5 separate regions of the Homo sapiens genome follow, and all the other regions are linked to region 4. Evidence: promoter capture Hi-C in 16 types of primary human blood cells and fetal thymus (Javierre and others, 2016). All regions are on one chromosome and are shown on one strand. Each heading gives the region's core, a stretch centred on a gene start or on the middle of the fragment in contact. The rest is flanking DNA. Distances are from core to core; before and after follow the strand shown.

Region 1 (4,564 bases), core at 1,259-3,758, 300 kb before region 4:
GATCACGTGTCTTGTTTCTAAAACACATGATTGCCTGAGCTCACTTTTGTGGTCTGGAACTGTGAAGCATGGCTGAGTCTTCCTGCTAGAACTAAAACAGACAAATCATGTTCCAGGCTCATAGTAAAGAACGTGTTAACTCTGGGTAGCATCTAAAAGGCATTTTAGTGACTTTCAAAACCAAGAGAATACAAGCAGGAAACTGGCTTCCATAGAGTCTTTAACTGGAGAATGTAAGCAGTATTTGAGGATTATTATTCAAGCAGCCCTGTCTAACAAGTGTGTGAATGCAGAACTGAAACCATAGCAGAAAGAACAAATGGCTTGAATTATCTAAGTCCTTCCATTGTCCTGTGTGTGGAAACTGTGATCTGAACCCCAGCCCCAGTGACAGCCCTTGCTGGTACGCTTTTTGAGAATAAGTTATAATGGAAAACAAACTGATAGACTGGTTGGTGTCTCCAGAAAAAAAATGTTCAAAACACTGGAGTTGTAAAATTTCTATGTTCCATCTGTTCAGGTGTTTCAGTGACATATTTTAATAGTAAACTTTAAAATCTTTATGCATCCATATAAATACATAAAACTATATAAATCGGCATTCTTAACTTTATTTTACAAAGAGTTAGTTCCTTAAATTAGAAAATAAATTCACTCTAAACAAATGTTTTAATTAGCATTTACCAGACATTTGTATAAACCTTTGTTTATCCAGTGCTTTTACATACATTAATTTTTGTTTCTTAGTTTACATGTTTTCTTGTTCTTATTACATTAACTTTATCTATCTCTAAGAATAGTTTGCTTAGCATCTCTAAAAAAAGTTCTCATTTTTTAGGTCACCCATGGTAAGGAGAGGGAGGATTAGAGAGTACCTGCTACTGACCATATGGAAGTTTTGGATGATATAAATTCAGAGGATCAGACCAGCTGAATCAAAATTAAAATGTACATGTAAAAAGTGTGATAGATAATGGTGGGAGTATAGAGAAAGAGCCAGGTGAGTAGGGAGTCATGTTGAGGTGGGAGACAAAGGCATTCAGACTAGCATGTGGCGTTTCCTGTAGAAGGCAAGATGGTCAGAACAGAAGCTGTGGTTACAGTCCAGGCACCAAAAAGATTTGACTCCAGTATGTTTTCAGAAATGTCTTATTTATCAGACAGAGCAAACTTCCATATGCATCCATCCCATGTACATTTGTAGGGTTTATCTCCTGTGTGTGTTCTTCTGTATGATTTCACGTGGAAACTTTTAGTGTATACTTTGTTGCATATGTCATAATCACATCTGTGTATCCTCTGCTTCCTTTGAGTTATCCACCAATTCCATCAGTAAAGGTCTCTTCCCAGGCTGCACTATGACCTAAGGGAGATTCTCTTGCAACAATGCTTGTTGCAAGGGGTGGGCACTGAGTTCATTAAGGGGGGGTGACATTTCTTCAGGATAATAATCTGTCCTCTGTTGTTTGATCACAGGTTCAATTTTTTTTCCTATGCTATAGGCTTCTTATATGATTCAATTACAGGTACTTGCATGCTACTATTTGAATTCTCCATTTCCTCCAACAAGGAAACAATGAGAGGCTGCTGGAGGTAACTCATTTACATAAAGGGGACAGACCATACCACCACCAGGCAGGATCCCTAGGCTCTGTATTCTGTGCCAGGAGAAGGCAGCTGCCATCACCGGTGGCATGGAGAGTGGCACGCCAAAGGGCTGCATGCCCAGAGAAGAGAGTGAGTATTTTTCATCATGGGCTGGAAGAAGGCATGCTCAGCTCTGGAGAGGCTCTCCAGTTCAAGGATGGGAACTTCAGAGAGGAAGAATTCCCAGCCAAACGGGTGAACTCCACTTGTTTACTGTGAGGTCCACTGGCTCCATCTGTATTCCATGCAATAAGCCTTCCCGGGTCTGAAAAAACTTATTAGGTAATGGTGTAGAGTAGATGACCCATACTTGTTAGGTTTTATTGATTTCATATAATTTCATGTATAGTCACAACTACCAAGAAAACTCTAAGGATTAGAGTAATTAACTTATCAAGGTCACTCAGCTAGTTAGATCCTATAATTCAAACTCAGGTCTGCCTGATCCTAAAGTTCTTATATCTCTCACACTTGAAATATAAACTCTTGAGATATAAAAGCTGCAAGAGAATATGATATTGTCCATAAGAGTGTGGTAAGTGTGGCTACAAATCTGTTACCATATTCCCAGAATCCTTAAAGAGGTATACTTAAGACAAATGAAAAGAATTACTTAACAATGAAATATGCAGTAAACTGGTAGAATTTCTAACTCCAAAAGGTGGTTTAGATTTTAGTTTTAGAAAGCTTAAATATATATTATAGTTAATAAAAATATTAATAAAATTATGGTGTTACTGTGACTGATTCCATGAGAAGATTTCATCAGAGAGAACAATCACACCTTACTATTAAATGGCCCCTGGTGCTTTTGTCAGGATATGATCCTAAACTAGATGAAGCATAGGTCTGAGCCCATATGATAAATTTTATGTTATTACTTCTAAATGCAGCTATAAATTAAAAGGAAGACTTATCTTAAAATGAACTTCAAAGAACTGGTACTTGATATGTAATTTTATGCAGTTAATTCTCAATTACCTGAGAATTAGTAGAATAATAGACAGTAAAAATGGCAGCTAATTCAAAGCTTTGCTCTTCTGAATGAAATATAAACATCCTACTAGTTCACTATAGGTTCTGGTAGACTAGTCTGGTCCTTTTGTTTTTAGAAGCAGAGTGCCCAGTTCCTGTCCTTAATAAATAAAGAAACACCATTAGGATAAGCTGCAGAGAGATTAAGCCACCTGCACAAAACAGCTCCTTCAGTTTCTGAGGCAAGGAGTTGTTAAATAAGTGTATTATTGTTCTGCCCAGTCCTTCTCTATAGTTAAAGAAATTCGACTTTAATTTTCTGTCACTCAGCATGACATTGGATTATGAGGAACAAGGCCCTAAATGCCTACAAAAATAAAGGAAGCATTGGCTTTAAACACCATGCAGATGTAAGGCAGAACCCATGGAAACAATAAAAAATTTACAACAGTAAATTCTACTATGATGTGACTGTGTTCTTTGCAGATATTAAATAAGAAGTAAATGATTTTAAATGAACAAGACAGAAAGAGTTCTTAACCTCTCTTCATATGAAGCCAGCTGTTTGCTGGATAGCATTACACAGGCATCAGATTTGGGATAATCAGTCATTTAAGAGAATCCTGCTATCCCTACAGGTTTCTAGAAACTACAAATATAAAAGGTATTCATAATTAGCTATTTTATAGGCTGATATAAAACTTCATAGTCACTTGGAGGGCACATTAAGTTAGTATAATGTTTGAGAAAACAGTAACTAAAACCTATATAGTGGAAAGTTATTTCAAGCTTAAAACTTACTGGATAAAGGAAACGCAAAACATTTAAAAATCTGGTTCAAAGTGCTATGTGGAGGAAAATGATTCCAGGTTAAAGTAGCATAATGGAAGAACAAGCAGGCAGATGAACTGGCACCCAGAGATCAGGGAAATTTTTTTTTTAATGTAAAATAGAAGGCTGTACTTTTTTATTGTATAGGTAATTGAAGACAAGGAAAAACAAGAACTCAACACTTGTCTGTGACAGGATAGTTTAAAGGTGTCATGCAGGAGCTCTTTAGAGTGCCAGACTGCCTAATTTCAAATCCTGGCTCTGCTTCCTGTTAACTGTTAACTCCAGTTTCATTATCTGTAAAATAGTCACTATCATACAGGACTGTTCTGATAATTAAATTACTTAATGTATGTAAAGAAGGGGAATAGTTGCAGGCACATTGGGAGTAACACGCACATGTTAGCTATTATCATTGGTGGTGGCATGAAGGCTACTCTTCCACTTCTGCCCTGAATCTCATCACTTCTCACCTTGAGGATATGCTGTTTTTGCACTTGGACCTGGTGTCACCAGTAGCTATCTTTGTATGGGGAGGAGTAAAAATGGAAGTGTTAATTGTCTTTTTCTTCTTTAACAATCTATAGTGCAACTATGGCAAAATTTTAAAACTTGTTAACTATGGATGATGGGAACACATACATGTTGTATTATTCTATTTTTCTGTTAGAAAAATTTATAGGTATATTAATTAGAGGGGGGCGTTGCTGGCACGGGTCAAGGATGATAGCATGTTTTGTACTACAGAGTCTAATCAACTCTGTTCTATGTGCCCAAGGTACAAAAGAAAACAAACAAAAAAGGGCAAGAAAGCTTTTTGGAGGGTAGTGGGGAGGAGATAATGTTTGAAACAGCAATTAAAGACACCCCATTTGATTCCATGAATAGGGAGCAGAAAAACTGAATTGCAGCTGGAGGTGAATATGGTAACAAGGAGCGTTGTCAGTTTTGTTTCGTTTTTAATATGGGTGAAACTGAGATGTTCATTTTCATTTGGGAATGATCCATTCTAGAGAGCATTTATGCTTGTGAATTTAATGTATACCTTCTAACCTGCATCTTAACATGTGAAAAAATTATTCGTTTTGAAGGTGTTTTAAAAATTACACAA
Region 2 (4,649 bases), core at 606-3,105, 320 kb before region 4:
AATGTCCTGACTTGCTCCCATTGCCAATACCTTCTCCGTCCAGCATCCAGAATGATTTTTCTACAGTGTCACTCTTCTGCTTAAATACCTTCAATGGTTTCTCTTCATTGCACTGAAAACAGCACCCAAACTCCCAAAGGCCTGCAAGGCCCTGCATGATGTGACCCTGCCTGCATCACTCACACTTACTATGCCACTAGCCACGCTACCCTGCTGTCCTTTCCCAGAACTCACCAACTTGTCTTTTGCTTGTAAAAGTTCCTCCCTGGCTCTTGGCCTGGTAACTTCCACTTGTCTTCCTTTAGGAAATGGGCAGAGTATCATCTTCGAAGTCACTTTTATGACCACCCTAGCCAAAGCAGGCACCTCTTCTATCAATTTTTACTACTTCATATCCATTATCACAATTTATAATTATTCTAGTCAGTTCTCTATTTTTTTGTTTTACTGTTTGTCTCTACCCTTAAAATATAAGCTATGTACTATGTACCCAGGGTACATAGTACCTGGCATATAATAAATGCCCAACAAATAATTGACAGACTGGCTGAATTACCCAAAGTGATCCATTCATTCATTCACTCATGCAACAAATATTTATTGAGTGGATATGTGTGGCAGGCTCTGGGCAGTTAGAGGACAAGGCAGACAAAATCTGAAAGTAGCCTAGAAAAAAGAAGAAGGCAACGCTTATGTTTAGGAGTAACCCTGTGATCACATGATAACCTACTGGTCTACAAGGACATTTTTAAAAAATTTATTTATTTATTTATTTTGAGACAGAGTCTCACTCTGTTGCCCAGGCTGGACAATGGCGTGATCTCAGCTGACTTCAATCTTTGCCTCCCAGGTTCAAGTGATTCTTGTGCCTCAGCCTCCTGAGTAGCTGGGATTATAGGCATGAGCCCCCATGCCCGGCTAATTTTGGTAGTTTTAGTAGAGATGGGGTTTTGCCATTTTGGCCAGGCTAGTCTTAAACTGCTGGCCTCAAGTGATCTGCCTGCCTTGGCCTCCCAAAATGCTGGGCTTACAGGTGTGAGCCACCGTGTCTGTCATTTTTATTTTTATTATGTGACAGACATCATGTCTGTAAACTTAGTGTCACCAATTACTAAGTACATGTATATTCTGGATAGACTAAAGCAGAGAGAATAAAGAAAGTACAAGGGCAATAATACAAGAAAAAAAAGAAAGGAAAAGAAGAAGAATAGGAGTTAGGTCAGTGATGTCACTATTCTCTGAAAGCTGATAGAAACTGTCCTTCTCATTCAACATTTAGAGGGTAAGATTATAGTCATAATAATTTTTTTAAAAACATGGCAAAACATATACATCCAAGTGAATGCTATTTCAAAGCAATTCCCCAAGAAAGCTATATATATATTCTACTGAGGTTACTAATCCTCAAAGCATTCATAAAACTCCCCTCTTCAAACTGCAGTCAGAGATAATTTATTAAGCATAGAAAAAGGGGAAAAATTTACTTTATTTTTGATCCCCAATAGTATTTCCCAGGTTGATTTCCCATCATATTCACTGGACTTATTTTCACTGGACCTATCTGAGACTGTTTCAAATATTCAGTGTATTCCTAAAGGATAAAGATCTGTCATACTGACGAGAGTCTAAAACATGTGCTTAAGCCAGTCCTTGGAGAAGAGTTCCAGAAACAATTAGACAAAGACAGGTTCTTCTCAATGACTTCAGTGAAGGAGACAGCATTCATCTGACTAAACAATTAAGCCTAATTAATCTGGCACCATTGGAAATATGATATTCTGGGTAATATAGGCACTGCTCAGATAACCAAAGTTCTAAACCAAATACTTTGAAAATTTGTATTTATTCCATGGTGTCTTTTCAAAGATGTATGATGTGTGTCTTTTGTATAGAATACATAACTGATTTTAATCTTTCTGACTATATACGTTAGCATATATAGGTTTTATCTCTGCTTACACATGCTGAATCTTTCAACTATCATTCCTTTTTTTATTAATAAGCCTGGCTCTTATACATTTCATTGTTATAAAATTGCAGCTTCTAATAAATGGCAGAGGAGGTGGGGTGGAATAGTCAGTTAAGTAGAGGGTACATTTTCGGTGTTGAAGGGTGAAGAGTAAATGGTGGGGGGATATCAGCTCTGCAGTTGCTAATCTTATTCAATAAAATATAAGTAATTATAAAATCATCCCAGGACGGACGAGAGATAAGCCTTGTTTCCCTATGAACTACACAGACTTCCTGCTTGCCTGGTGTAGAAACAGATTTGGTGCCCAGGGAACAGTGTTGGCAAGAAAGAGTTCTGAGACAAAAAAATCTAATTCTAAGATAACTGCTACCCACTACCCTGGTCCCCACCCCCAGACTCAGCAAACAGGTTTGCAAAGGAGGACTCAAAGAAAAAAAAGATTGTAACTCTTCTAAATTATATTCATAAAATAAAATATAAACTAAAATATAAAAATGATAGGAAGAATGAAAAACAAATAACCTATCATGTGCCTTCTGTGCACAGAAAATGATAGAAAACAAAAATTCCTGCCCTTATGAAACTTGTGTTCTTAGTTAATATAATAATTATATCAGTAAATGTAAATGAAATAATCTCTTAAAGAAGCCCAGATTTTTAAATCAATGAAACAAAAAAACCCTAAGATTTGTGCTATATATCAGATATGCATTTAAAACAAAAGGATTCAGAAAGAATGAGCAAAGACATAGCAGGCAAATGAAAACAAAAAGAAAGAAAGTAAGGTTGAAATATTAATTACAGATAAGGTTAAACACAAATTAACTAAACAAAAGTATCTTGGAAGCCTGGACCAATGTACTTCTTAGTATCCTCGATACCACCTAAGGAGGTATCTTTGCTTGTGCCATATCCTCCAACAAGATGTGCTGACAGACAAGGAGGAGAGAAGAAAAGTAGGAGCCAATAGAAGGAAAAAGTGATATAAAAAGATCTTTTCTGTTGGAAAAATGATAGAATCTACCAATCACTGACCCAGGTGAAATTTAGTAGTACAAGTATCACACGTGGTCTGATTTTTTTTTTTTTCAAGAAGAATTTGACACCAAATGCAACTTGGGCTTCATTCCTACTTTCACCAACTGCAACTTTACCAAGTCATGTAACCAACTGGAGCTTCAGTCTAATCACTTGTAAAATGAGGTGGTGGGATGCAATGACCTTGTAGGAGAAATATATCTTTAGTCCTGTGATTTCACTATTGTTATAATATGTCAGACACTGATGTTGCAAATATATATGGAATACTAACTTAAACATAAAATGTTTTTGTAAGAAATTATTGTTTACTGCACCTTTCATTTTTCAGTGTTAAAACCTCTTCCCTTGTCTGATTCAGAAGAGTTTTGGTTATCTCCAGTTCATTTTCTGCAAGGTTAATTCTTCTCTTTATGTCTTCTTCTTGCTTTTCTTTCACAGTCAGCTCTTCCTGTAATGCTTTATATATCTGTTGACAAGTCATTAAAGAGTCTTCTTTTTCCTTAAGCAGCATAGTATGCCTAAAAAGAAATAGGAAAAACACCCACCAACATACATTATATACTACATTTTATATTTACCAAAGATGTATCAAGAGCTCATTTGAAATTATAGATTATAACTGTAACTTTAAAAAATTAAAAATTTTAAAAAAAGAATGGTTCTATAATGTTAATATTTTCCCATCTAGGCAGTGGCAACAGCAATAACCAACTGCAAGATAATATAAGCTTGAATTAGGTATTTTATATGTAAACAATAAGAAAATAAAAAATGATAAGTGCCTTTTAAATAAAATGTTACTTAAATACAGTTTTAAGTTCAATTATTAAAAATATAAATTTAAAAATTGGTAATGCATACTGTGACTCAGAAATAATGGATTCAAACTTCAGTTTTTTAAGTTCTCTTTGACAGTCATCAGCTTCATTAGATTTATTCCTAAAATAATACAAAAGAAGTTAAAATATATTATTTCAAAATAAAGTATATGTTTTTCTGTAGCATTATTTTACTCATCAATAGAAGAAATTTCTTAACATCTTCATATTATTATTTGTTTAAAGAAATAAACATTCAGTTTACTTCTATACTGGCCAACAAAGCTTCTGTCAGACTGATTTGCATGTAAATAAAAAGTATAAACTGCACAACACTAAAAAACAAAAACAAATAAACAAAACCAAAACCCAAAATACCTATGTGAAGGTATTGGAAAGTGACTAAAAGCAGGGAGATTCTGGAGGAAAGTTGACAGTTGGAATGAGGTGACAGCATGGGGTTGGGCTATTAAAAATAATTTTAAGCCTGAGGGCAGCCCCCAGTCAGCACCCTGCAGGGGAACTAAAACTCTTAGAGAAATCGTCAGTCTTTCTGGCCCATAGAACCAGAGGCCATGGTATTTGGGGCAACCACAGCTGTTGGAAAGTAAAGAAAGGATGCTGAAGAGGCGAGAGCCGGAGAAAGAGAGTCCCAAATACTCCACATAAATTCTGCCCCTGAACTACACATGTATTAAGCATATTCCAAGCAGCCTAGTTAAAGAAAAAGAACTGAACTGAGATTGAGCTGTTATCCTGGACAGAGATTGCCATTTGAGGTGAAGCAACACCACTTCACCACTCTCAACAATAACAAC
Region 3 (4,681 bases), core at 769-3,268, 350 kb before region 4:
AGTCTCTTCACCATAGTTCATAATTTTATAAATTAATATTCTATTATCTTCAATTAATCCAAGAGGGAAGAAGGCCACTGTCAGGTCTGCACAGTGGTTTTCATCACCCAGAGGAGAGCTGACACTGAAAGTATCTTTGGGAGAGGAGGTTCACATAACCACAAATATGTTTTTATTTTTTAAAAGGCAGTCAACATTTAAAGATCAGGAGGTTTCACTTACAAAATCTTGATTTAAAAATCAGGATTTATGACTTCTCTTAAGAAACTGTAACATTTGGCAAGTTCCAGCTTGCCTGTCTGCATTCTCCTGCTGATGGGATCCTGAACCACCCAGGGCTGCAACAGCAGTCACAGAGTGAGAGGAAGAAGAAAGGGGGAGACTCGGTGGAGCCTGGGGCATCAGGAGCCAGGAAGCAAGAGGTGAGAACCCTCTAGGGGAGGCAGAACCTTGGGGGAGCCAAGGCTCTAAGCTTGTGGCACATGCTCCATTGCCACAGTAGGATTTCACTTACAAAACAGAAGTTCAAAGATAAAATCACTAAGATTTTTTTTTTTCTTTTAGAGAAGGAGTCTCACTTTGTTGCCCAGTCTGGAGTGCAATGGTATGATCATAGCTCACAGAAGCTTTGAACTCCTGGGTTCAAGTGAACCTCTTGTATCAGCCTCCCAAGTAGCCAGGGTATACACTGGTATGAACATACTACAGGTATGAACCGTCACACTAGGCTAATTAAGTCTTTTTTTTTTTTAATAGAGACAGTCTTGCTATGTTGTCCAGGCTGGTATTGAATTCCTGGCCTCAAGTGATCCTCTTGCTTGGGCCTCTCAAAGTGCTAGGATTATAGGCATGAGCCACCATGCCCAGTTAGATTATTAAGAATTTCAAGGTAGTATCTGCAAAGCAATAAATCCAAAGCATGAAGCCTTTCTGAGTGTGGGACCATGTGCTATTGCACTGGTTGTACACATGTAGCTGGTGCTGCCTGTTGTTCACAATGGACTACTGAAATGGATGTACCATACCTCCTGTACACAAATGTAGAAGCCATTAGGTCTTGTCTGATGCTTAATTAACACAGACTCTTAATGCATGTATTCAAAATGTTATTTCCCCACTAGGTCTTGATTAATACACATACACACACACACACACATACACACTCTACACTCAAGTCCTATAAAAACAGGAAAACCTTAACAAAACCTTTAGTATTTAGAACATACTGTTTAAGAAATTTAGGGAGGTGTAATTACATTTTAAAAATATTTCTCTTCATTCAGAAATGTTGAGAATGAAAAATATTTGCAATTAAAGGGTATATGCTTTAGTGGTTGGGAAAATTTTAATTATATAAAACACCTCATTATCTTTCAATGTTGGATATTTGAGGTGTTGAAATATCTAGCCGTACTAATTTTTAGTCATATAATTTATGATGTTTAAAAAATAAGTTTATTCCAGTAGAAAAAATCCATACATAGCTGGATTACATGCTTGTATAACTTATCTCAGTTATCCATTCTGGAGAATTAGCCAAACCGTCTTACCTGCATAGCTAAAACCAAGACACAGTGACCATGAGTGAAAGCTACTGGAATTATAAATACTGTAGTGTTCTAAGGCGAAATATACAACATCTGCAGTTTCAAATCTATTAAATAATGATGAACATCATAATTACAGACCTTCATTTGTAGTTCCTCTTGTTCTTTCTTATACTTTTGGATTACATCTTGGTGTTTTTCTTTTTCAATATCAAGTTGCAATTTTGTTTCTTCCTTAAAGAGAAGAGCTTGCTCTTCAAATTCAACCAAGTGTTGGGCCCTTTCCTTGGCAAGTTCTGCTTCAATCTAGAAATGGCATTTAAAGCACATGTAAAACTATTTTTACCTTAAAATAAGTACATTAAGCTTATTTTCAAACTCTAAGTTTTAAAATGTTCTGACATTAAATTTTTAATTAAACTATTTTAAAAATTCTAGTGTTCAAAAAAAAGTGTGACTTAGAACTTGGGCCAGAAAAATTGACCTTGTGCCAAATATTCCACCACCTTCTAAGACCTGAAAAATTAGTAGAGGAGTTACAACTATATGACAGTTTTCAGAAATACTAAAAGCTTAATTACTTGCTCATTTATACTGTGAACTCAGTCCTTGCCAGCAACTCAGAAAATTGAAGTTTTTGTTTTTAAGCAGATTTTGAGGGCCTTAGACTAAGTTCTGCTTAAAACTCAGAGGGAACACAAAGGACAAATGTTGATTTTTCAAGTGGCCCTTTCTTGATGGAGGTCATAGAAGTTTTGAAGTCACAGATTGTCATTTTAATGTGACTAAAGTGGGAAGGATGATTAAAGGAAAAGAGTCAGTAATGTCCGTACAGATGGTCCCCAACTTGCAATGGTTCGACTTATGATTTTTCGATTTTATAATGGAGAGAAAGCAATATGCGTTTTCAGTAGAGACTATACTTCAACTTTTGAATTCTGATCTTTTCCTGGGCCGTTGATATGAAGTATGATACTCTCTTGGGATGTTAGGCAGTGTCAGTGGGCCACAGCTCCCAGTCATCCATGTGATCATGAGGGCAAACAGCTGATACTGTACAGTGTATGTACTGTGTTGCCAGTATTTTTTAGATATTGTGTTTTCACATTCCATCATGTCTACAGATTACCCATTTTTGACTTACAATACCTTCAATTTATGATGGGTTTATCAGGATGTAACCCCACTGAAAGGTGAAGAGCATCTGTATCCATACTTTGACTCAGATAGAATCATAATGCTAGAAGGGACCTTAGAAATCTCCTAATTCAATCTCTCATGTTTCCATGAATTGTGGAAAGAATAAGCAAGAACTCTAGATGCAGATGAAGTTGAGTTTAAATCCTGGCTCTTAATCCTGGCTCTGCTACTTCCTAACTGAGTGATCTTAAGTTTGTGACTGTAACCCTTCCTGGTAGGGTTATAACGAGTTCCCTTAGGGGCTGTTATGAGGATTAAAGGAGGCAAAGCTTCTGTGTAAAGCTCTAACATGAGTAGGAATTTAACAGTCAGTGGAGAGTACTTCCACACTCTGACCCTTCAGTCTCTACTACTGACTCCATACTAAATGACTGACTGCTGGGTGCCTCACACCTCCAGAAACCATAACTCACTCCTTCCCCAGAAGGCATTTCCATTTTCAGACAGCACTAAGCATTAGGCAGTTTTTCCTGTAGTTGAGCCAACATCTCTCTCCATGTGGTTTTTAACCATTGGTTTTGGCTCTGCCTACTGAAACAAGAAAGAGAAGAAATCTATTAGAACTGGAGTCATTTACTCCTGGGAGTTCATCTAGAGAGACTGGAAAAGGAAATCCCAGTGACAGTCTGGCTCTAGATTTATACTGTGCCAGGATTATAAACTCTAAGAGAGGGTAAAGCCAGGTAAATTGGGAGAAAAACTCACAACTGATGGTGACTGTGTGATTTAGGCCACCAAGACAGGGAAAGAGGTCAACCTAAATTTCTCAAGAGAACAATGAAGCCAGGGTACAAGGACACAAATATTGCTAAGAAAGTTAAAGGAAGCCCTTTACATTAAATAAAATACTGATGGAAGACTAGCCCCAGTGTGGGGTCAATTGGTTTTATTGTACTGGGTATAGGACTAAGCATCTGCCTTAAGGGAATGTAATTATGTTTATACAGTACTGAATGCAAAGAGTTATTTTGGCTCTTTCAAAATAAACTTCTGGATTGTTTGGGATAATAGGCTACTGATGATTTATTAGCAACATTACAGAATTACAGAATTATTCAGATGGGCTGCTCTCAGACTGCTGAAGACAAAGGAAGTCTCAGGGGGCACTCAGAAAAAAAGAAGATATTCCTCTGAATTTCAGGTACTTAAATCCACTTTGCCTCCTGGTAGCCATTTAGATAATTCACAGGTGCCTCCAATGAATTGTATGGCCCAGAAATCTTGTAACAACACTCTTCCCAAAGCCTGTTTCTCCCTCTTATTTCAGGACACAGCTCTACCATCCATCTAGTTACTCAAGTTAGTGACTGGAACATCATCTTTCATACCTCTCTCCTTTACCCTCCCCACCCAATCCAACACAAAATCCTATTCATTTTACCTTCAAAAGATGCTTTGCATCCATTTCTCTATGTCTCAACTTTCATCAGCACTTCCTGATCACCTAGTTCTGGCCACCATCACTTCCTGAACAGCCTCCTTACTTTCACTCCTGCTTCACTCCAACCCATGCTACTACACACAGCACAGTATTCTTTACAAACTATAAATTAGATTTTTTTATTCCTTCTTCGTGGTTTCTCAGTGCATTAATATATCAAAACTCCTGTATATGGCCTTTTACGGGGCGACTACTAGCCCATATGACACCTTTGTGTAAACTGACAAAGCACCCCATCCTTAGATGAAAACAGTCTCATGCCAGTCATAGGACTTGATGAGCAGAGTACAGGCTAGATTCCATCTCGCTTTGCTGCCTTGGCCTGTTGCAGGGTGCAACTTAAACACTGTGTATGGTGGCAGTCCTGGATTCCTCCAGTCTGACTTCCACTACTTTTCTCATTTGATCACTGTGCTTTGGCCACTCTGGCATAGATAAGTCAAGAATATATGAAAGGAGAAACCAAATGTAATACATTTGGAAAAATTGGAAG
Region 4 (4,731 bases), core at 1,622-4,121:
CACAGCAGGTAAAAGTAGAAGAGTCTTTCAACAGGCCATTGGCATGCATTTGTGGACTGAATACATAAGAGTTTGCAATTCTGCTAGGTTAAGAATTTCTACTATAAGGTTAGAGTGGGGTGGGAAATGGGAGGTAGAAATAACTGTATCTAGATGATGACAGCAGGGAAACCACATTTCCACTCAGCTTTGCGGTTCTCTTTATAGTTGTTTATGTATCACCTATCTCATGAGTTGACAAAAAGTTTCTTTAAAAGTTCATCAAATGAAAGATAAACTTCAAACTTAAAACAGTGAGTCAATTTAAGGGTATAAGAACATACACAAGTAACAGGGGCTCTCAATTGAAATGTTCTATGGGAGAAAGCCAGGAGTCTGTTAAGCATTTCTATATTCAGAAAGCTCTAATATACTATCCAAGAATGTTAAGAGTCTACTTTTACAACCCCCAAAAACATTACCGCTTCTGATGGAATACAAGGGTGTGTTTAGTAACAGAAGCCCCATTAGCAACAACCACTGCACGATGTGTCAGAAGACAAGCACAACTTGGTAACACAGAAAAAGCCTCCTAGTTCTTGCCTTCAGAAAAGTTACATACATACATTTTTAAAGAGCAAATGAAGGCATACTATAGAAAAATAAAAAAAAAATATAAAACACACACCAAATTTCAGATTCCTAATCAACTACTGAAAGAGACGAAAAAGTCCTTTCTTCCAAGAATCAGACCCCTTGAAAAAAACTGAAATTTGAAAACATTTACTGAGATTGTGCCAGGTGAGAAAGGAATGGTGATGAGCAATTAATCCTCTTCTCTCTTGTCCAATAAACTGAAAGAGATCTGTGACGCAAGGTCCCATGACTTAATCAAATATGCATCCTAGGTGCCCAATAAAGTGCCTAGCTACCACAATGCACACAGCTGGTGTTCCATATATATTTTGTTGGCTGAATTAGTTAAGAAAAGCACATATTAAATGCTTAGTTCTTTGTTGTTTGTGGGTCAACAACAAAAGGTAAAACTGAGTGTCCCCAAAAGTGAATATTAAAAATTTAATTGGAGAGTCATAAATCTATGTGTAAGAAGTCCATCAAATTCAGAAAAGTAAAATACAAAGCAGTTTATAACGAAGTATTAAATTTACATGATAAGTACAAAAGGAAAAGGCAGAAAAAGGAGAGTTCACTGTAAGCTGGCATTGTTAGGGAAAGCTTCACGAAGAAGGAGGGATCTGACATGAGACATAAATCAACTGGAAAGGAGCCAAGCCAGGCGTTATTATTCATCATTTGGTGTTATTGCCTCAAGGCACAATTGGCACAGATTGTGGTATTCCCTCTCCACCATACCAAACCGGCCTGTGCTTTCCCCACGCGCACACTCTCTAACCACTCCTATCAAACCCAATCAAGGTAAAATAGACACTAAATCGATTTTATTTATATGTGTGTCTGCGCGTACACACGCAAGCGCGCGCGCGCAACTTTTCCTATTATTGCCCTTTCATCAAACTCGGAAACAAAACTGGGAGGAAGAAGCAGAGAACTGGAGAAGTGGCTGGAGGGGGAAAGCCACTAGAACCTAGCTCCTCAATTAGTTTTCATAACAGAAAAATAAAGATGAGAAGAACACATCCTCCGGTCTCCAGCGGCAGGCGACACACCGCGACACCCCTCACCTCGTGACGCTGGGGTTCTGCGGCACTCCCGGCCAAAAGCACTTTCCGAAAAAACTGCCGCTCCAAAGCCTGCCCGCCCGCCGCCGCGCGACACCCCGGCGCCGAGCCCGGGTCCGAGTGACGCCTCCTGTTGGCCGCGGCGGTTTGCTCAGCTCCTGGTCCCGGGCCGCGCCAACTCCGCGCAGTGCAGCTGAGGCGCCGCCCGGCTCTGCAATTCCGGGTGTTCCCGGGCGTCCCCGCCCCCGCCTTCCCCTCAGCAGGCGCCTGGGCGCCCCCCAACTCCTGTCCAGCCTCCTTCGGACCAACGACCCGCCCCGGCCTCCCTGCATCCCAGAGACTACTCGCGGCGCCTTCTCTCTCTAATTCTTCTTTACCCCCTCAGCTCACCTCCCGAGGAGCGTCCAACGGGTCTTGGGGGCTCGCAGAACTGAGCCGCGAAGCGCGGGGGAAAGGCGGCGAGCGCTTCCCGCGGCGGCGGGGAGGAAGACGAAGACTTGTGCGCTCTCAAAGTTAATGTGAAAACATCTTCCAAACTTCTGGGCTGCAGCCCGAAACGCGGGGTAGCCGGAAGGCTCCCGTAGCTGCCGTGCCCTCCCCCCCGGGGTCTGGGAAGGGCTCCTAGGCGCCTCAGAGCACCCGGGGTCGGCCCGCGGGGGAGGCCGCATAGACGCGCCCCCACCCTGACGAACGGGGAAGGGGCAGGCGCCTGCGACCCCAACTAAATCCTTCGGCGCCTCGGTCTGATGTATACACCTGCCACAGGCTCTAAGTGCCTAAGAAGTGTAAACCAATTCCATCTTCATGCTGACGGGACCCGAGTGAATTCGGTACAAAGGGCAGTCTCAAAATCAATCACCCCGATCCGCGAGAGCCCCGCACACTGCCGGCGCGGGGCCGGGGCCGGGGCCGGAGCCGCGAGGCCGGCGCTCGCACTCCCCGCTAGGGTTCTTCAGCCCCTCAGTGCCCTCCCGGAGCCCTTTACCTGAACGGGAGCCTGAGAGAACGGACGACAGGAGCCGAGTGGAAAGCAGTGCCCGCGCCGGAGATCAGCGCCGAGGGCGGGAGCCGACGTCTAGGGACCACAGAGCCGCGACGCGGCGAGCCGCGCACGGGCCATTCCGCCGCCGCGAACGCAGAAAGCCTCGACCGCGCTCCGAGTCCAGCCAGCTCGCCTGTCACCTCGATCTCTGCTTTAAGTGGCTTCCGGTCGCCTCCTCCCGACGGCCCGTCGCGGAGGCGGAGCCTGGGCGGCCGGAGTTCGGTGGGGTGGGGTGAGGAGGCCGGGCGCTCAGTGGGTGTCGGGAAGAAGACCCGCCCCCTGCGCGCGCGTGCGCGTTCGTTCGAGGGGAGGCGCGCGAGTTCTGTGCGGTGGACTTATGCTCCCGCGAGGGGGCGTGTCCTTTCTCGCGTCCGCAGTGTCCCTGAGGGTCCGCGTCTACACGCGGCTGTGAGGAAGGAAGGCGCGTGCCGCGTGGGACGGGCTCCACCTGCCTGCGGACAGATGGAGGGTCACTTTGTTCCGAGAAGACCCAGACACCCGAGGGAGGATGTGAAACGGAACGACCCGTTTCGGTGCGGTTGGCTTTGTTTATTTGCCTACTCCCCAGACGCCTCCAGCCTCTGATTCCGGCACACCCTGTGAGGAAGCAAACGGCTGCCTCCCCCACTGCCACCAGACGAGGTCGCCTGCCCCGAGCCGGACAGGCTGGACAGGCTGCGCACCTGCGGCGGCCGACTATTTCGTGGGCCTTGTACGCCACCTTGCAGAAGGGAAGCTGTGAGGTTTTGGCGATAGAAGCGCATTTACTTGTGTTTTAAAGCCCACAAACGCCGTAGTGACTAACTTATTCATTCAGCAAATGTCTGTCAGAGCGTCTATTACGTACCAGGCATGTAGCCTGAACTTCACGCCTGTCCTCATGGAGCTTGCAGAGCACCTCTGAAATACACACCACATACGGAATGGCCATATTTTCTGGGTTGTAAAATACTTTGAATTGTAACTCCATATATTGAATAGATTTTCAGTAGTGAGGGAAGAAACAATACATTTAGTTCATATAATCCATATGTACGAAAAAGAAGTGCTGGTAATTCCAGACATGGAAGTCAGTAAAACTAGGAGCTAAGAGGTAATAATCATAGACATTATGATTCTAAGCCTTTGTTAAACGGTTCTAAACCAGACTGGGTAAGCGCACCAGCAATGAATAGATTAAGGGTGTTATCTCCTTAGCAGCTTATTTCAAATTGCATCAAGGCAGGGCCATTAAACTAAGGTGAGAATGATATGGGCGGAATTCAGAGGACAATAGGTAAAAGATGAAAATCTTTACATTTAAAATCTTATTGAGACAAGATCTTGGTCAGTGTCTACTCATACATAGAATTGCCTAGAAGCTAATATTTGAGTTTACCATATTACTGTTGGCTTTCTATTTTTCTCATTTGTTCTGTTTCTTTTCTGTCCTTTTGTGCCTTCTTGTAGATTATTAATTCCACTCCCTTGTAACAATTAGGTTGTTATACATTCTTTATGCTTTTAGTAGTATTTCAGTTATTTATTGCTGTGTTCAAACCACCCCCAAAATATAATGACTTAAAACAATGGCTCTTTTATTTACTCATGATTCTGAATTCTCTGGCACAGGAATTCAGTCAGGGCATAGTACAGGTGGCTCATTTCTGCTCCATGATGTCTGGGGCTTCAATTAGCGTGGGCATACTGGGGCCTGGCTGGAATGGCTTAACTAGGGTCATAAGTCTTGGGACTTAAGGATGGAGATGGAGTTTCATGACAAAAATGAAGTGAACATGATGTGGAAAATATGGACATGGAAGCCACGAGCTAAGGATGCTGGAACAGAAAGAAGGCTGTTAGCTACATACCTTGGTTTTTCTCTACATGGCTTCTCCATATGGCTAATTTAGGCTTCCTCACAGCATCATAATCTTAGGATTGCAAGAGGGGACATTCCAAAAAGACAAGCCTCAATGTGCAAGCCTTTACTTTTATCATGCTTACTAATGTGTCACTGGCCAAAGCAAG
Region 5 (4,840 bases), core at 1,544-4,043, 280 kb before region 4:
ATGCAATGTTATGTATCTTCCTTTCTTTGTTTGACAATATAGTTTGGAGCTCTCTATCTCTCCAAGGAACAAGGAACTTTCTCTGTCTCTCTCTTTCTCTCTCTCTATGGCTATATGGACTCTACTGTTTGAATACTGCACAATTTATTTAACCAGTCACCTATCATGATGTTTTAGGTTGCTTGCAGTCTTTTGGTATTACTATGCTTCAAAGAATAACTTTGCAAATCTGTTACTTCATTTATAAGAAGGCATATCTACATGTTAATTCCTGGAAAAGGAAGTCCAGGGTCAAAGGAAGGGGGTTCATTTGTATTTCAGACAAATATTGAAAACTAGTCTCTAGAGTAATTGTACCAATTTATAGTCCACCCAGAAATGTATTAGAGTGCCTCACCAACCCAATCTGCTATCATACTTTTGGGTTTTGTTAATCTGATACATGAAAATCACTACCTTAGTAGTTTCGTTTTTTATTGATCTTATAAATATTTGAAATATTTAGCTTTGACAGCGTTTTTGAAGGAAAAAAGATCAAAGCTAAACTCCAAAACTTCACAGTTTTCATGAGAATCTATCATTTATACATTAAAGAATTTCACAAGTATTTATATTGTCAGCATTAACAGCTCCTGGTATAATAAATTCCAAAAATGCATTTTTGTTGCTACTACTCTCACATGGTTTCGATGTGCCTCCATTTAGCTAAAAATAGCTTCTAGTTCTAAAAAGTCTCCAGGAATCTACAACTCCTGGGGCCATCCCATCAGCAGCTATTCCAGGTCGAGAGGAAAATCCAGGATATATGAGAAGAATTTCAGTTTTCTCAAGAATGCAAGAGTGTATCTTTAAATAGAGCTTGCCACATCAATTCCCTACTTTTTCTAGTTCATAAAATCAAAACCCTATATATCATTTTGACTATTTCAAGTGACAAGTACAAGTAATTCATTTGAATACAACTTTCATACACTCAAAGATGAAAAATTGATTTGTTCATTCCTTATACTATACCCAATAGTAAAAAATTATTTGAAGCATTAGAATCTCACAATTCTAAGCTATTAAAGAGCAAATCAACCCCAAAGCTAGCAAAATACAAGAAATAACCAAAATCAGAGCTGAATGGAAGGAAATAAAGACACACAAAAACATTCAAAAGATCAATGAATCCAGAAGTAGGTTTTTCGAAAAAGTTAATAAGATAGGCCACTAGCTAGACTAATAAGGAAGAGAGAAGATCCAAATACACCCAATTAGAAATGAAGAAGAAAATGTTACCACTAACCCCATAGAAATAAAAACAACCATCAGAAACTACTACAAATACCTCTATGCACACAAACTAGAAAACCTAGAAGAGATGCATACATACCTGGACACATACACCCTCCTAATACTGAACCAGGAACAAATTGATTCCCAGAACAGACCAATAACAACATCAGAAATTAAATCAGTAATAAACAGTCTACCAACCAAAAAAAAACCCCAGGAGCTGATGGATTCACAGCTGAATTCTACCAGAGGTACAAAGAAGAAGTGGAACCATTCGTAGTGAAACTATTCCAAAGAATCGAGGAGGAAGAACTTCCCAACTCATTTTATGAGGTCAGCATCATCCTGATACCAAGACCTGGCAGAGACACACACACAAAAAAATTCAGGCCAATATCCATGATGAACATCAATGCAAAAATCCTTAACAAAATACTTGCAAACCAAATTCAGCAGCACATCAAGAAGCTAACACGTCGTGATAAAGTAGGCTTCATCCTTGTGATGCAAGGCTGGTTCAACATATGCAAATCAATAAATGTGATTAATCACATAAATAGAACTAAAGAAAAAAACCACATGATTATCTCAATAGATGCAGAAAAGGCTTTTGATAAAATTCAACCTCCCTTTATGTGAAAAACTTTCAATAAACTAAGTATTGAAGGAATAGACCTCAAAATAAGAGCTGTCTATGCCAAACCCAAAACCAACATCATATTGAATGGGCAAAAGCTGGAAGTATTCCCTTGAAAACCAGAACAAGACAAGGATGCCCTCTTTCACCACTCCTACTCGATATAGCATTGGAAGTCCTAAGCCAGAGCAATCAGGCAAGAGAAAGAAATAAAAGGCATTCAAATAGGTTAAGAAGAACTCAAACCATCTCTGTTTGCAGATGACATGTTTCTATATCCAGAAAACTCCTCAGTCTTGACACAAAAGTTCCTTGAGTTGATAAACAGCTTTAGCAAAGTTTCAGGATACAAAATCAATGTACAATCACTAGCATTCCTATACACCAACAACAGCCAAGCCAAAAGCCATATCAGGAACACAATCCCATTTACAATTTACATACTCACACACACATACACACACACACACAAAATTCCTAGGAATAAAATACATAGGAATACAGCTAACTAGGAAGATGAAAGGTCTCTACAATGAGAATTACAAACTGCCCAAAGAAATTAGAGATGACAAAAAGAAATAGAAGAACATCCCATGCTCATGGATTGGAAGAATCAATATCAGTAAAATGGCCATACTGCCCAAAGCAATTTACAGATTCAATGCTATTCCTATCAAACTATCAATGACATTTTTCATAAAACTAGAAAAAATTATTTAAAAATTCATATGGAATCAAAAAAGAGCCAGAATAGCCAAGGAAATCCTAAGCAAAAAGAACAAAGCTGCAGGCATCACATTATCCAACTTCAAACTATACTACCAGGCTGTAGTAATCAAAACAATATAAGAAATGAAAAAGGGGCAGTAACTACAAATAAAGAAGAAGAAATAATAAGAAAATAATGCTCTGAACAACCTCATGCCAACAGCTTTGAAATCTTGGGTGAAATGGATATATTAATACAAAAATATATGTTACTAAGATTGACTCAACAAAATCAAAAGGTTCTGTAACTATTAAATAAATTGAAGCAGTGTCTTCCCACAAAGATATGGCCAGATGGTTTTCTAAGCAAATTCTACCAAACTTTCAAGAAACAGAGAATCTTAATTTTATACAATGTTTTAGAAAGAGCCAAAAATTAAAGTATATTTCCCAACTCATTCTACAAGGCCATAGTGACCTGTAACCACAATCTGACAAAGATATTAAAATAAAGAAATAAAGGCCTATTTCTATTATGAAAACTGATGTAGCAATTTTTAACTAAATGTGAGTAAACTGAAACAAACAGCTTTTCTTTATGCTGAGTATGTGATCAAGTCTTACTAAATGTTCCTTTGAAATATGAAGTAAAATACAATTCTCTACTTGAGAATTCTTGTAAAATCCTTGTGAAAACCCTAGAAGGTCGGGACTGTTATTATACCCATTTTGTAAATAAAGAAACTAAGGCCCAGAGGAGTTTAACTTATGCAAAATAACACAGCTAGTAAATATTGAAGCCAAAAGAACAGCATGGTACTGGTACGAAAACAGGCACACAGACCAATGGACCAGAATAGAGAGCACAGAAATAAAAACGCAAACCTACAACAATCTGATCTTTGATAAAGCTGACAAAAACAAGCAATGGAAAAAGACTCCCTATTCAGTAAACGGTGCTGGGATAACTGGCTAGCCATATGCAGAATACTGAAACTAGACCCCTTCCTTATACCATATATAGAAATCAACTCAAGATGTATTAAAGACTTGAATGTAAAACCCAAAACTATAAAAACCCTGGAAGACAACCTAGGGAATTACCATTCTGGACATAGGAATGGGCAAAGATTTAGTAACAAAGACACCATAAGCAATTGCAACAAAGGCAAAAACTGACAAATAGGATCTAATTAAACTTAAGAACTTCTGCACACCAAAAGAAACTATCGACAGAGTAAACAGACAACTTACAGAATGGGAGACAAAATTTGCAAAGTATGCAGCAGACAAAGGTCTATTATCAAGGATCTAAAAGTACCCTAAATTTACAAGAAAAAAACCCAAACAAGCCCATTAAAAAGTGGGCAAAGATCATGAACAGACACTTCTCAAAAGAAGACATACATGAGGCCAAATAGGAAAAAAAAGTTCACTATCACTGATTATTACAGAAATGCAAATCAAGTGCCAATGAGATATCACCTCACACCAGTCAGAATGGCTATTATTAAAAAGTCAAAAAGTAACAGATGCTGGTGAGTTTGCAGAGAAAAGGACACACTTATACACTTGCTGGGAGTGTAAATTAGTTCAACATTGTGGAAAGCCATATGGCAATTCCTCAAGGAGCTAAAAGCAGAACTACCATTTGACCCAGTAATCCCATAATTGGGTATATACCCAGAGGAATATAAAGCATTCTACCACAAAGACACATGCATGCAAATGTTTATAGCAGCACTATTCACAATAGCAAAGACATGGAATCAACCTAAGTGCCCATCAATGACAGATTGAACGTTCACTGTCAGCATTATTATTTAACAGAGTGTCAGAGCTTCAGATGAATTTAATAAGATATGAAGGAGACAAGAAAATAAAATAACAGATATAAACACTGGGAAAAAATAGATGAACTCTTTTGGGAAGTTGTAGGCCCAAGAGTCACTAATAAAAAATGTCTACTGTAGAATTAATATGAGAATTTTGTGAGGTGCATGGATATAAAACAAATATATAAAAATAAATAGCTTTTGTCTACTCTATCAACAAAAATTGAAATAGGAAAAATAGTCTATTTATGGTAGAGGCAAAACTGACAGTAACAAATTTAACAAGAATGGCAAAGAAACATATTTAAGTAAAACTATTACATCTTATTAAAGAACATATAATAGCATTAAAAATGAAAGAGCATACCATATTTTTGAATGA

What was found. Contacts are between HindIII fragments. The CHiCAGO score rates a contact against its expected background, and 5 or more counts as called.
Region 1: a contact is called between a fragment that was not itself captured here and the fragment with the promoter of TIPARP in region 4, in 2 of 17 cell types (total B cells and naive B cells). The highest score is 11.6, in total B cells.
Region 2: a contact is called between a fragment that was not itself captured here and the fragment with the promoter of TIPARP in region 4, in 2 of 17 cell types (naive B cells and total B cells). The highest score is 8.7, in naive B cells.
Region 3: a contact is called between a fragment that was not itself captured here and the fragment with the promoter of TIPARP in region 4, in 2 of 17 cell types (total B cells and naive B cells). The highest score is 15.6, in total B cells.
Region 5: a fragment that was not itself captured here is called in contact with the fragment with the promoter of TIPARP in region 4 in 1 of 17 cell types (total B cells); the score reaches 6.2 in total B cells.

What each region holds. Positions count from the first base shown.
Region 1 is chr3:156,974,300-156,978,863 of GRCh38, reverse strand. All of the region lies in intron 6 of LEKR1 (leucine, glutamate and lysine rich 1), which reads right to left. It also overlaps the pseudogene KLF3P2. Among named protein-coding and RNA genes, the nearest start is that of LINC02029, 110 kb to the left of the region's middle. RefSeq lists an enhancer at 90-219. The HindIII fragment of the contact is 343 bases long and covers 2,337-2,679 here.
Region 2 is chr3:156,991,956-156,996,604 of GRCh38, reverse strand. LEKR1 (leucine, glutamate and lysine rich 1) reads right to left here. Exons shown (of 13, transcript NM_001004316.3): 8 at 3,875-3,952; 9 at 3,328-3,531. Among named protein-coding and RNA genes, the nearest start is that of LINC02029, 88 kb to the left of the region's middle. The HindIII fragment of the contact is 3,776 bases long and covers 1-3,743 here.
Region 3 is chr3:157,021,932-157,026,612 of GRCh38, reverse strand. It overlaps LEKR1 (leucine, glutamate and lysine rich 1), which reads right to left. Exons shown (of 13, transcript NM_001004316.3): 11 at 1,689-1,853. Among named protein-coding and RNA genes, the nearest start is that of LINC02029, 58 kb to the left of the region's middle. The HindIII fragment of the contact is 206 bases long and covers 1,916-2,121 here.
Region 4 is chr3:156,672,730-156,677,460 of GRCh38, reverse strand. TIPARP (TCDD inducible poly(ADP-ribose) polymerase) reads right to left here and starts at 2,871. Exons shown (of 6, transcript NM_015508.5): 1 at 2,665-2,871. TIPARP-AS1 (TIPARP antisense RNA 1) reads left to right here and starts at 1,748. Exons shown (of 1, transcript NR_027954.1): 1 at 1,748-4,290. RefSeq lists silencers at 1,786-2,145, 2,516-2,585, 2,616-2,665 and an enhancer at 3,076-3,375. The HindIII fragment of the contact is 8,735 bases long and covers 1,218-4,731 here.
Region 5 is chr3:156,948,141-156,952,980 of GRCh38, reverse strand. The region is part of intron 6 of LEKR1 (leucine, glutamate and lysine rich 1); the gene reads right to left. Among named protein-coding and RNA genes, the nearest start is that of LEKR1, 120 kb to the right of the region's middle. The HindIII fragment of the contact is 5,967 bases long and covers 1-4,840 here.